2 separate regions of the Homo sapiens genome follow, and region 1 is linked to region 2. Evidence: promoter capture Hi-C in human tissues and cell types (Jung and others, 2019). All regions are on one chromosome and are shown on one strand. The core of a region is centred on a gene start or on the middle of the fragment in contact, and the rest is flanking DNA. Distances in the headings are between cores, read along the strand shown. Region 1 overlaps SCAPER (S-phase cyclin A associated protein in the ER). Region 2 holds the start of RCN2 (reticulocalbin 2).

What was found. Contacts are between HindIII fragments. The study calls those that stand out against the background at their distance.
Region 1: a contact is called between a fragment that was not itself captured here and the fragment with the promoter of RCN2 in region 2, in 1 of the 25 tissues and cell types used here (spleen).

What each region holds. Positions count from the first base shown.
Region 1 is chr15:76,752,737-76,758,849 of GRCh38, reverse strand. SCAPER (S-phase cyclin A associated protein in the ER) reads left to right here. Exons shown (of 32, transcript NM_020843.4): 15 at 4,902-5,042. Among named protein-coding and RNA genes, the nearest start is that of SCAPER, 150 kb to the left of the region's middle. The HindIII fragment of the contact is 4,177 bases long and covers 1,969-6,113 here.
Region 2 is chr15:76,928,349-76,934,892 of GRCh38, reverse strand. RCN2 (reticulocalbin 2) reads right to left here and starts at 3,144. Exons shown (of 7, transcript NM_002902.3): 1 at 2,908-3,144; 2 at 2,427-2,532. The coding sequence starts at 3,051. RefSeq lists a silencer at 2,702-3,451. The HindIII fragment of the contact is 23,440 bases long and covers 397-6,544 here.

The sequences.
Region 1 (6,113 bases), core at 2,808-5,307, 180 kb after region 2:
TTATATTAGCAACAAAAAGAATAAAATACTTAGGAATTAACTTAAGCAGGGAGTTGAATCACTTGTATAGTGAAAATTATAAATTTATGAAAGAAAATTTAAAGCAGCAAGTAAATAGAAAGATATCCCTGTTCATGGATTAGAAGAATTAATATTTTTAGAGTGTCCATACAGCCTTAAGTGATCTACAATTTCAGTGCAATCTCTGTCAAAATCCCAACCATTTGTTTTTAGAGAAATAGAGAAACAGTCCTAAAATTCATATGGAGCTCCAAAAGACCCCAAAGATTGAAAGTCATCTTGAGCAAGAAGAGCAAAGGCTATAGTCATAACACTTTCTAACTTTAAATTTTATTATAAAAGTATAGTAATCAAAACAATTTGGCACTAGCATACAAACATACACACAGACCAATGGAACTTAATAGAAAACCCAGAAATAAACCTATGCAATTATGGGCAACTGGTCTTTGACAAGGATGCTGAGAACATACAATGGGGAAAGCATAATCTTTTCAACAAAGGGTATTGGGAATACTGGGTATCCACGTGAAAAAGATTGAAATTGGATGCTTATCTTACACCATGCATAAAAATCAACTCAAAATGGATTAAAGGCTTAAACATAAAATCTGAAACCATATAACTTTTAGAAAAAAACTTGCAGAAAAACCTTATTGATCTTGGTGATAATTTTTTGAATATGACAGAAAAACACAGTCAACAAAAGCAAAATTAGACACGTGGAATTATATCAAATTAAAAACCTATAGAGCAAATGAAAAAATTATCAAAATGAAAAGACAGCTATGGAATGGGAAAATATTTGTAAAAAATAGATAAGGCATTAATATCTAAAATATTTGAAGTACTCACACAACTCAATGGCAAGAAAACAGCCTGACTCAAAAATGGGCAAAGGACTTAAAGAGACACTTCTCAAAAGGAGAAATCCAAAAGGCTAACAGGTACATGGAAAGGTGCTCAGCATCTATAATGATCAGGGGAAATGGAAATCGAACTTGAGTGAAATATCACCTGACACTTGTTAGGATGGCTATTATCAAAATGACAAGAGGCAAGTATTGGGGAGGATGTGGAGAAAATGGAACCCTTGTATGCTGTTGGTAGGAATGTAAATTAGTATAACCATTATAGTAAGCAATATGGAATTTCCTCAAAAAATTAAAATAGAGCCTGTCATACGATCAGCAGTTCTTCTTCTGGGTATATATCCAAAGGAATTGAAATCTGGATCAAAAAGAGATACCTGTGCACCCATGTTCACTGTAACATTATTCGTAATAGCCAAGATATGGAAACAACCTAAATGTCTGCTGACAAATGAGAAAAATATGGTATATATTTGAGTGTGTGTGTGTGTGTGTGTGTGTATATATAAAACAGAATATTATCTAGCCTTAAGAAGAATGAAATTTTGACATTTGTGACAACGTGGATGGAGCTAGAGGATATTAAGCTAAGTGAAATGAGAGAGAGAAATGCTGCATGATCTCACTTCTATGTGGAATATGGGAAAAAGTCACATTCATAGAAGCAGAGAGGGGAGATGGAGTGATATTGGTCAAAGGGTACAACAGTTTGACTTATGCAAGATTAATAATTTCTGGTGAGGTAATGTACAACATCATGACTGTAGTTAACAAAAAACAAAATACCTGAAAACATAGGAAACATTGGGTTTATTCCTGGAATTCAAAGATATTCCTTCATTAGAAAGTCTATGAATGTAATGGGATATAAACTGATTAGAAGAGGAAAACCATTATTTTCAACATCAGGGAAAGATGATCAAGTTTGGGTAAGTGGGTGGGGCACTAATTATATTTACAGAAGAGAGTCTGTGTATTTAGAGCAGAATAACTATTGATCATTGCGGTAAGTGGAAATAACATGGGCTCTGGAGATAGCCAACCAAGTTTAAATCTTGATTTTATCATATAATAAGCTATGATTCCCTGAGCAAGTTACTTAACATTATTGTATTTCAGTTTCTTTTTCTGAAAAATGACAATTATAATTATTAACCTGTTGTGATGCTTAAATGAGGCAAGCATGTAAAATAGTAACAGTGCTAGGTTGGATGTTGTTTAATATACAGTCACTCTTATAACTGAGTACTGTGTTATCTATGCTGTATTATAAATGACAGAAAAATGTAGCTTAAAACAGCAAACATTTATCAGCTCACATTTTTCTGTGAAAAAGGCAACCAGGAATTGCATAATGATTCTTCTATTGTTTTTTTTTTAGAGTCAGGGACTTGCTCTGTCTCCCAGCATGGAGTGCAGTGATGCAGCATAGCTCACTGCAGCCTAGAACTTCTGGGCTCAAGCCATCCTCCTGCCTCAACCTGCTGAGTAACCAAGATTACAGGCACATGCCATCTTGCCTGGTTAAATTTTTAATTTTTTTGTAGAGACAGGGTCTTGCCATGTTGCCCAGACTGGTCTCAAATTCCTGGCATCAAGCAATCCTTTAACCTCGGCCTTCTAAAGCACTGGAATTCCAGGCATGAGCCATCATACCTGGCCATCATTCTTGCCCTGGGTCTTTGATGATTTTTTTTTTTTTTTTTTTTTTTTGAGACGGAGTCTGGCTCTGTCGCCCAGGCTGGAGTGCTGTGGCACAATCTCGGCTCACTGCAGCCTCCACCTCCCGAGTTCAAGCGATTCTCCTGCCTCAGCCTCTTGAGTATCTGGGATTATAGGCGTGCACCACCACACCTGGCTAATTTTTTATATTTTTGGTAGAGACGAGGTTTCACCATGTTGGCCAGGCTGGTCTCGAACTCCGGACCTGAAGTTATCTGCCTCCCAAATACTGGGATTACAGGCGTGAGCCACTGCTCCTGGCCTGATGAATTTTTAGTTAAGCTATCAGTCAGGTCATAGTCATCTGGGTCTGGAGGATCCACTTCCATACTCATTTGTGCAGTTATTTGCTGGCCTTCGTTCCCCTTTGGCTGTGGGCCAGAAACCTCACTTTCTTGCCAAGTATACCTTTCTACAGCCCAAGTGTCTTCATGACATGGCCAGTGATTTCTCCATAGAAAATCAGAGAAAGAGTGGGGGAGAGAAAGGAAAAAGTACCTAAGAGAGTTGATAAAATGAAGTTGTGCTGAGTTTTATAACATCACTTTTGCTGTATTCTTTTGGTCACAGTCCTGATACAATATGGGAGGAGATTACATAAGGATCTTAAAACCAGGTGGCTTAGATTAGTGGGCACCATCTCAGAGGCTCCATACTACAAGTACCTAACACAGCATGTTGAAAGATATATGGCCACTATATTGTAATTACAGGTGAACTCTTTCGTTACCTTCTGGTATTAGAAAGGAATATAAATATGCATGGGTTAAGCATATTATTTGGATTACTTTTAGTGTGTGATTTAAATTTGGGAGAAATAGTTGGACCACATAATCTGAATGTTCATAAAAATGCGTTAGGTAGCACACGATTCTGTTGAATACAGTAGTAAAGTTGACTAGGACTGTAAGAAAATTCTTTGATTTTTCTTTTTACTTGAATCTCAAGAATTTGTCATTAGATGAATAGATTTGATATGAAAAGCAGTCTCTTGTGGGGTTCTGCAAGAGTCAATGTATTATTTTAATTTTAGCTTAAGAGAAGTGCTCTAACACAATCACAGTTCTTCTCTTACTGTGTTTTTTAATGCCAGCAAAATTATAGTGTATTTTCTTTTATCTAAATATGATCTCCAAGTATTCATGCAAGAAAATCATAGATTAGTGAAAGTATACAAGACTTTAGATGTTTTCTGGTTATTTTCTCATCAATGTAGGTATCCCTTCAATTAATTTTAATGGCAACTTTCATCTTCCATTTGTATGATGGATTATTGTTTTCAACACTGTTTCACATGAGTAATATCATCAGATCACCACAATAACTCTATGATGTACACAGGGCAGGTACTGAACCTCATTTTATAGAAGTAAAAACAATCTAGGAGAGGCTAAGTGTTGTTTCTAGTGTTACACAACCAATAATTTGCAGAGCTAAGGCTTTAAGGACATGTCATCTGGCTCTTAGTATAGTGCTATTTTTGTATCATACTTTTTTGGATGGTTCAACACAATTATTGAGAGAAAAAAACAATTAAAATGTTAGGTTTTTTCCACTCATATTGACCCATCTTCTGATTTTCTATAATTTATTTTCATTGGTGCTGAATCTTATTTCCTGGAGCACAGAACAAGCTTTTGCTTCTTCTGTTTGAGATTGTTTTAAGGAATTAAAGTTTTAAGGGTTAATTTCTTAAAATAACATCAAATAGCAATTACTACATCTATCTTTTTTTGTAGGTGAAACCCTCTCTGTTCCTTCAGAGAATGTTTCTTATGCAAATAATGTGATTTGTTAGATGTCATTTTTCAGTTTCTAGGATAAAATTACTTATTTTTCTTGAATGTGGGTTACATCATAGAGATGTTAACATTTATAAGGACAAGAATTATACACTATATTCATTTTAAACATACTCATGGTAACAGTACAAGAATAATAGCAAATATTTCTGTAGAGGCATGTCTAAGCCACTGTTCTGAGAGTTTTATGAACCTTCAAATAATCCTGTGAGTTAGGTAATGTTATTTTTATTTCCTGTTTATAGGTAAGGAAACTGAGACATAGGCTAAAAAAGTTGTCTAGATTATGCAGCTAGTAAGTGGCCAATGTAGATTATGAATTCAGGTAGTCTGGCTTCATAGTCTGTGTCCTTAATTGTTAGTCATGTTGCTGCACATTTTTCCACGCTTAGAGTTTATATTTCATAAGCCATTTACTTGTTTGTACTTCTTTTAAATGATTGTATATATTGAAATTAAGGATGTGATGATTCACTATACGTAGGAGAAGGATGTCCGGAAGTGGAAGGAAGAATTGCTAGATCAACGACGCAGGATGATGGAAGAAAAATTACTTCATGCTGAGTTTAAGCGAGAAGTGCAGTTACAAGCAATTGTGAAAAAAGCACAAGAAGAAGAAGCTAAGGTATATCATAAGAGCTTTAAATGTTGACTTAATTACCCAAGTACTTTTTTGAATTGTTATATAATAGTAATAGAAGATAATGTTTATCCAATGTTTATTCTGTTGTAGAATAACAGCATTTTACACACTCATTTAAAACTTACCAGGTGCAATATTTTATCCCTTTGATAATTCTATGAGCCATCTATTATTATTTTTACAACCCTGTAAAGGTATAATTGATAGAGAATAAGCAGCACATATGTAAAGTATTCCATTTGATGAGTTTTGACATGTATATATCCTTGAAACTATCAGTACAATGAACATAATACACAATTCCTCTTTGTAATTCATTCCTTCATTCAACTCTATTATCTAATTACTGATCTGCTTTCTATCAGTATAGATGTTTGCTTTTTCTAGAACTTATGTGCATGGAATCATACAGTATCTATTGTTTTCTCTGGCTTTCCCTCATAACAGTTACTTTGAACTTCATCCATCCTGTTGTGTGTGTGAATAGCTCCTTTCTTTTCATTGCTGGGTCATTCCATTTCTTTACGTATGGAAATACCATAATTTGTTAACCCAGTCACTTGTTGATGGACATGTGTTTTCTTTCCAGTTTTTTTCTATTACAAATATAGCTGCTGTGGCAATTCATGTATACATCTTTGTGCAGATGTGTACTTTCATTTTTATTTTATAAAAACCTAGGAGTGGATTGGTGTATAGCATCTTACAATAGGTTCATGTTTAAGTTTTACACATGGTTTTCCATACTAGTTAAATATTTTACATTCCTACCAGCAGTGAATGAGAGTTCTAGTTGTGCCATATTCTGACCAGCACTTGACACAGTTACACATTTTAATTTGAGTCATTTTTTTTAAATACATGTATAGAGTCTAATTTTTTTCCTATTTTTTTTGTGGGAAAAACATAATGTAAAATTTATCATCTGAATCATTGTTAAGTATACAATTCAGTGGTTTTAATGCATTCATGTTATGCAGTCATCACCACCATGTATCTTCATTACTCTTTTTCATCTTGTAAAACTGAAACTCTATACTCATTAAACAGTAA
Region 2 (6,544 bases), core at 1,895-4,394:
ACTTTACTTTTAAAAAAAATGTTATCCAAAATCTTGCAGAAAACCTTTGCTAACTACCACAGATCTCTCAGGAAGCATAAATATTTTGATAGCTATTTATTTTAGTATGTATGAGAAAAAACAGTGTTTTTTATTTATGAAGGTGACATAAAGTCTTCCTTTAAAATAAATTTTATGTGAGTTGAATTAAAACTATAGTAAGAAAATAATAGATGGTTAAGTAGATATGGCCTAAATTCTGAAAAGGTATTCAAGTGACTGAGAATACTGCTTCAGTATATTACCTTTAAATATGTTGTTAAAACATCTGGAGTAAATTTTAACGAAGTTATGGGTAGCAATTTATGCCCTTCCTGCAACAGCTATCTGTCTTAACTTGGTACCTGAAGGCATGGGAAAGTTTCTAAAATTCAAATGTTCACTTTTCAATCAACTTTTAAAAAATCTATTTGGCTGGGCTCAGTGGCTCACGCCTGTAATCCCAGCACTTTGGGAGGCTGAGGCAGGCGGATCACCTAAGGTCAGGATTTCGAGACCAGCCTGGTCTCGGGTAAAACCCCGTCTCTACTAAAAATACAAAAATTAGCCGGGCATGGTGGCCAGTGCCTGTAATCCCAGCTACTTGGGAGGCTGAGACAGAAGAATCACTTGAACCTGGGTGGCAGAGGCTGTAGTGAGCCAAGATCACACTACTGCACGCCAACATGGGTGACAAGAGCGAGACTCTGCCTCAAAAAAAAAAACAAAAAACTATTCATAAAAATATTTACTAAACTACGTTAAAGGAAACAAAGGGAGGGACGAACACGAATATTTGTGAGGACAGCATGAGTATACCATTTATCAGGTTCCTCTGTACATGTTGCCTCTAATCTTCAAAACAATGCAATTATAATCATCACTATTATACAGGTGAGGAAACTGAGGTTCAGAAAAGTCCAAGCCTTCACAACTAGTAAATAGCAGAGTCCAGATTCAAACCTGTCTGGCTTCAAAGCCAACTCCTACTGAGTTTTGCTACCTCTTAACATCTGATTCCAGACCTGGCCCTCAAAGAGCAAATTGCCAAAATTATCTTAAGGGTCCTCAAGTAGAATGAAGGCTTTCGTAAGCACCATGAATCTTTCTTCTAGTTTATTTAAAGAGATCACCATGGCATAGAAGAAAACAGAATGGAACAGGGATCAGAAATGTGGGTTCACACTTCAGCTTTGCCATCAGGGGGTAGTTTACCATCTCAAGCTTTTCTTCTCATCTGTATAATGAATATTTGGACTAAAACTTTTCTAAGTTTAAACTTCTTAAAACCTTACTATTAAATATTTGAACATATCTAGGTCTTGACAGATAGGTACCACGCAGTCTTCCAAATCAACGTGTTGTGTTCTTTGATTACTCTAGTATAACCAAAGATTGACTTATTCTTAGATTGGATAATCAGAGACCAAAGGTCTTGTTATTATTGTCTAACTAAGTGGAAGAAAAAAGCCCTTAATCTTCCAGAGGGTTCCAATGTGAATATGTCATTGACAGCACATCTTAAATTTACCAGTTTTTAATTGTCTCCAGCAACTTAATTCCTTGATGGTGAACAGCATTTAAATGAGAGTTACAGAAAAACAGCTAACTTAAGAGTCACAATAACAACCTGAATTTTTCTGAGGACCCACTTGGAACGCTGACAGGGAACATCATTTGAATTGAACAATGGGGAGAGACAACTGCACAGCAATTTATTTAGAACATTCTTTTAATAGTCTGTGCATTTCATTTCTGACTAGAGAATTTACCTGAGAGCATCAGATTTTTTTTTTTAACTGAAGGATATTAAAACCTGAATTAAGAGCAGGATACCTGGATTCTAGTCCAGCTTTGCCACTTATTTGTAGAAGGCACTTATCCCTGTGCTTCATTTCTTCATCTCTACAAAGTGATGTGGACAAGATGATCCCAAGGCCCCTACCAGCTCTAACATTTTGGTATAATGTTATAATAAACGTAATTCACAGGCAACAGGTCTTTTTCTACTTGCTTAAAAAAAGAAGCAAATTCCTAAAATTTAAATGAAGCATATATCAAAAGAGCGATAAATCATTTACTGCCTTAAAGTTTTGGGGCATATTTCTCTAAAATAAATCATATTGTTGACACTAACAAAAGTCACGTGAGAAAGAGGGTGTCTCAAGGTGTGACTTCCACATAGAGTACAGGGTCAATGATGTTTATATATAACTGGAGAAAGCACCGAGTTTTACTTGGTTCTCAGTGTCTAAAGATTTGTAAGTATAAAGCCTATTCTCCATGTCCTTTTCTCCTTCTCACAGGACTTCCAACTTGGGACACTAGCAATCTATACATTCAGCAGACACCGCTGCTTAACATATTTGTGTTTGTCTCCATTGTTAGTCGTGTAGGGCAGTCCTTACTTTCAGTGAGAAAGCCATCTGAGTCCAAGTCGATTTTCTTTATGATCGCCTGCAGTCTTTTTTGCTGCTCTTCGTGGCCGAGTTTAACATATTCATCCACATCTTCCTTTAGGGGGAAGCGACACACAGGAGGGCCAAGCATTACTATCAGTGGGGCAAAATGGTGGAGAAAAACAGGGCTACTAGAAGACCCCCTTGCCAAAGGGTTTCGGGGTGACCCGCACCTGCACTTCAAGGCCCCTACCCCCTACACACCCTCCATGATCTGAGGGGTAGAAGGGATCCAGCTCTTGGGCCGTGCTATCTCCTCAGGCTTTCCAGGCCCCAGGACCCCCAGAGAGCGAGTGCCGCGCCGCCCGGCCCCCATTGTCAGGCCGCCCCTGCCAGGCCTCGCCCGGCCGCCCCCCTTTGTCCCGGGACAAAGCCCGCGGCAGCCGCGGTGCGAGGCCCGGCCCTCCCAGCACCGGCCTGGCCGCCTCACCTGGACGCCCAGCAGCGCCTCGCGGTCGTAGTCGCTGCGGCGCTCGCCCAGCGGGTAGTGCAGCTCCTCGGCCTTGCCGGCGCCGGCCGCGGCGGCGCACAGCAGCAGCAGCCCCAACGCCGCGGTCCTCGGGCCCAGCCGCATCGCGCCGGCCCGCGGAGGACACCGAGGGACGCGAGGAGGGAGGCTGGCGGGGGCCCGGGCCGGCTGCGATGCTCCGCGGGCGGCTACAGAGAGGCGGTGCGACGTACGTTGAGGGCGGAGGGAACGGGAGGCGGAACCTGCGGTGGCGGCCACAACGCCCATGGACGGGCTGGGGGCCGGTCCACCAATGCGGTGCGGAGGCGCGCCAGGAGGAGGCCTATATGGCCGGCGCGGAGTGGCGGGGCACCAGGCCGCGCCGCTGATTGGGCAGCGCGGCGCTGGGGGCGGGCCGCCGCGATGTCGGGGTCAGCGGCCGCCCAGAGAGCTCCAGGAGCCATGCTGGGACTGCAGAGAGGGTAGACCTCTACGACCCGCGCCTTGTCGTTCCCCCGAAACGCTTCTAAAAGCACGCCCCCACCCCACTCCTGCCCACTCCTGGTCCACTCCATGTGCCCCTCCTACCGTCCATCAATGAGAGAGGCTGGAGGTTTCTGAGACAACAATACAATATCGAAAAAATTATTGCCTGAGGAATCGGCCAACAGTATTCTTTCTCAGTCTTCAATGTATCTATTTTATGAGAGTAGGACGTACAAACTCAGGAAGTGCAGCCAGATGCTTGTATCTGATGCTCAATTTCGTGATTTACAAGTTAATGTGAACTTGCTCAAATTTCTTGACCCCTGAAAACTTGTTTGCTCATCTATAAAATGAGCATAGTAATAAGACTACCTTAAAGAATTGTCGTGAAGATTAAATAATGTAATGGGTTTAGAACAATAGCTGGCACATAAGGTGAAGTGTTCAGTGAAGGTAGGCTTTCATCCATACAAGTAGAAAAACGAAAGATGATTGCACAGAAGGAATAGCTTAGTAAGTACCTAGCAAAACCTTTAGGGACAGAATGCATATACACATGGCTTCTATTCCATGTCTATTCACAGGTTTATGTAATTTCTCCACCTCAACCTGAACACATTAAACTCTAAGAAATTTGTAGGCTGCACCTTGAACCCTTTTCTTTATTGATTGCGCCACTTAGGATCAGGCCTTTCACAGAGAAGAAAAGGCTTTCTGGGTCCTCTTTCATTTCTCTCAGTCTCTATTTGGATTGGGAGCAAGAATTCTGTTCCAAACTGCAAAACTGGGTGGGCACAAGTCGCAGAAATTTCCTGGGTCGGGTTGAAATTTATGGTTTGGTCACAAACCATTGAAAGATTCACAGAGCAAAGTGTAAGTTCAATCTTTCCAATGTTATAAAGATCAACGAAGAACAAAGTTTTAAATTTCAGAATATAAATAAAAGCAAATTTTAGAGTTGATTTCATTAAACTAAAAAGAAAACCCTTTATTGCTGGATTTTAATTTTCACTTCCATTCTCGGTTTTGAGGAAAAAAAGAGAAAAATGTCCCAATTTAATATAAGAAACTCTGCTTTGTACCTGTTGTTCTCCAATAAGTAAAAGGTAAACTTTGACCAGCTTCCGGCGTGACTCCAGTTATAAAAGGTAGGCTACAAGGTACTGTGGAAGTTCTTCTAAACTCAGGGGATCCACAGATGGGAGTTTTGGGGGCCAAGGGAACTTAATGATATCTAAAGAGACAGTGGAGTAAGCAGTATCAGAAGGCTGGGTTCTGTCTTCAGCCCCTAAACAGGCTGTTTTCGCTCCCTGGGTCTATTGCTTTCATCTGGAGGAAAAGGATTGTGTTATCTCAGTGGATCTTAATTTGAGATCTTTGGGTTCCTAAGTGGTCCCTGCATGGTTTTCAGTGGTGTGTTTATCCCAAAATCTTGGTGCATGTGTATATTTCCAGGGAGGAAGTCTATAGCTTTGCTTTTATCAGAGTTTCAAAGGATCCATGTGGCAGAAAAAGTTAAGAGTCCCTGAAGAAGGCTCTGAGCAACTTTTTGACTCTTAAAATCAACGATTTTATTGGGATTGTTTGGAAGCAGATTACAGTAAAGGCCTATGCTTAAAAGAGGCAAGACTGATCCAATGTCATTACTTGTAATTAATCCATTCTACTCGGGGAAAAATAAATATCTAAAATAAGTAGCCTGTTTAAAAAAATGTGTTATGAGAATCCAAAGATCAATTTTCTTGACCTATAAAAGCCCATAGCATATAGCAAAATTGGTTTTATTTATATTTTTATTGAGGTATAATTTACCTAAAGTACACAAATGTTAAGTATACAGTTCAATCATTTTTTTAGATTTGTTTGCTGTGAGAGCCTTGAGGTAGGGAACTGTGTGATTTCTCCTAGTGCACCTACAAAAAAGAGGAACTCAATAAATTTTTGTGAAATGTATGAATTCAGCTATTCTGGCATTCTTTTAGAAGTATGTATTATGGGTAATAAAGTTAACTTTGAAACTATTGAAAGAAAGATTTGTAGATTTCTTGCTTTTTGAATTTGGTAAGATGTGTGTTACAATAAGCAGTGGCTTAAAAAACAAAGCAATATTTAACATATATGGCATGGACCCTTGTGTTACAGGCTGATTTCCACCAGAATGAATGAGATTTGGTACAATAAACAACTTAAGTGGGAAAGCCAACAAACTCAATGAGACTGCAGCTTTGCACAGATGGAAAACACAAGACAAAAGAACAGACTATAAGGCAGTGAATGGGAGAACAACTTAGACTGAATGACCATGCAATTAGGGGGATTTTGTTGGCTGTTTAATCTTTTGTCAGTCTTTTGAGGGGAGAAGGAAATGTGAGAATTCCAGGGTTATGGTGGAGTCTTAGAAGGTGACAAGAACATGTGTAGGTGGGTGGGTGTATTATAATGCCTTAAAAATCTTTTCATTTCCAAGGAGTATCTGAATGTGTAAGTAGTCACAAAATCTTTTAACCTATTAGAAGTACTTTCAAGAAATTCAATGTAACTTTTTCACTGAATAAGATTTCCCTAAATTAAAGATGGATCTGTCCCAATGATCAAATGTAATGATAGCTCCATCCTCAAATAGAAGCCATCCTCCACTTCCGGCAATTCACATTTATGGCCCTTGGTCAGTTATACTGGTGCATCTCTTGCCCTAAAGGTAGCCCAAGTGGACAAATATTAGAGTGCCTTCCTGACTTTCTCCCTATTCACATAGGGTGATCATACATCCTGGTTGACCTGACATGATTATTAATCATGACTCTTTCACACTCAAAAGTATACCAGAATGGGGTGATAAATGATATGGTCACCTTACTTTTGGGCCTCACATTCAAACTGTCCAGCCCCCTCCCTGTACTCCTCCCCAAGCCCCAGGCTTTATTATGCCTCAGAACCTCTTCCCACACTCTTTTCCCCAGGTTTTCAACAATAGGACCTTGAGGTCTTAGTCAAACACATTAGCAATAAAAATAAAGAACACTAAGAAAGAGGGCATGAAAAGAGGAATAAGACTGTGACTTAAGCAAGTGTTTCTTCTGAATTATAATGAAATTTATTTTCTTTGGCGTTACTAAACCAGCTCTGAAGACAA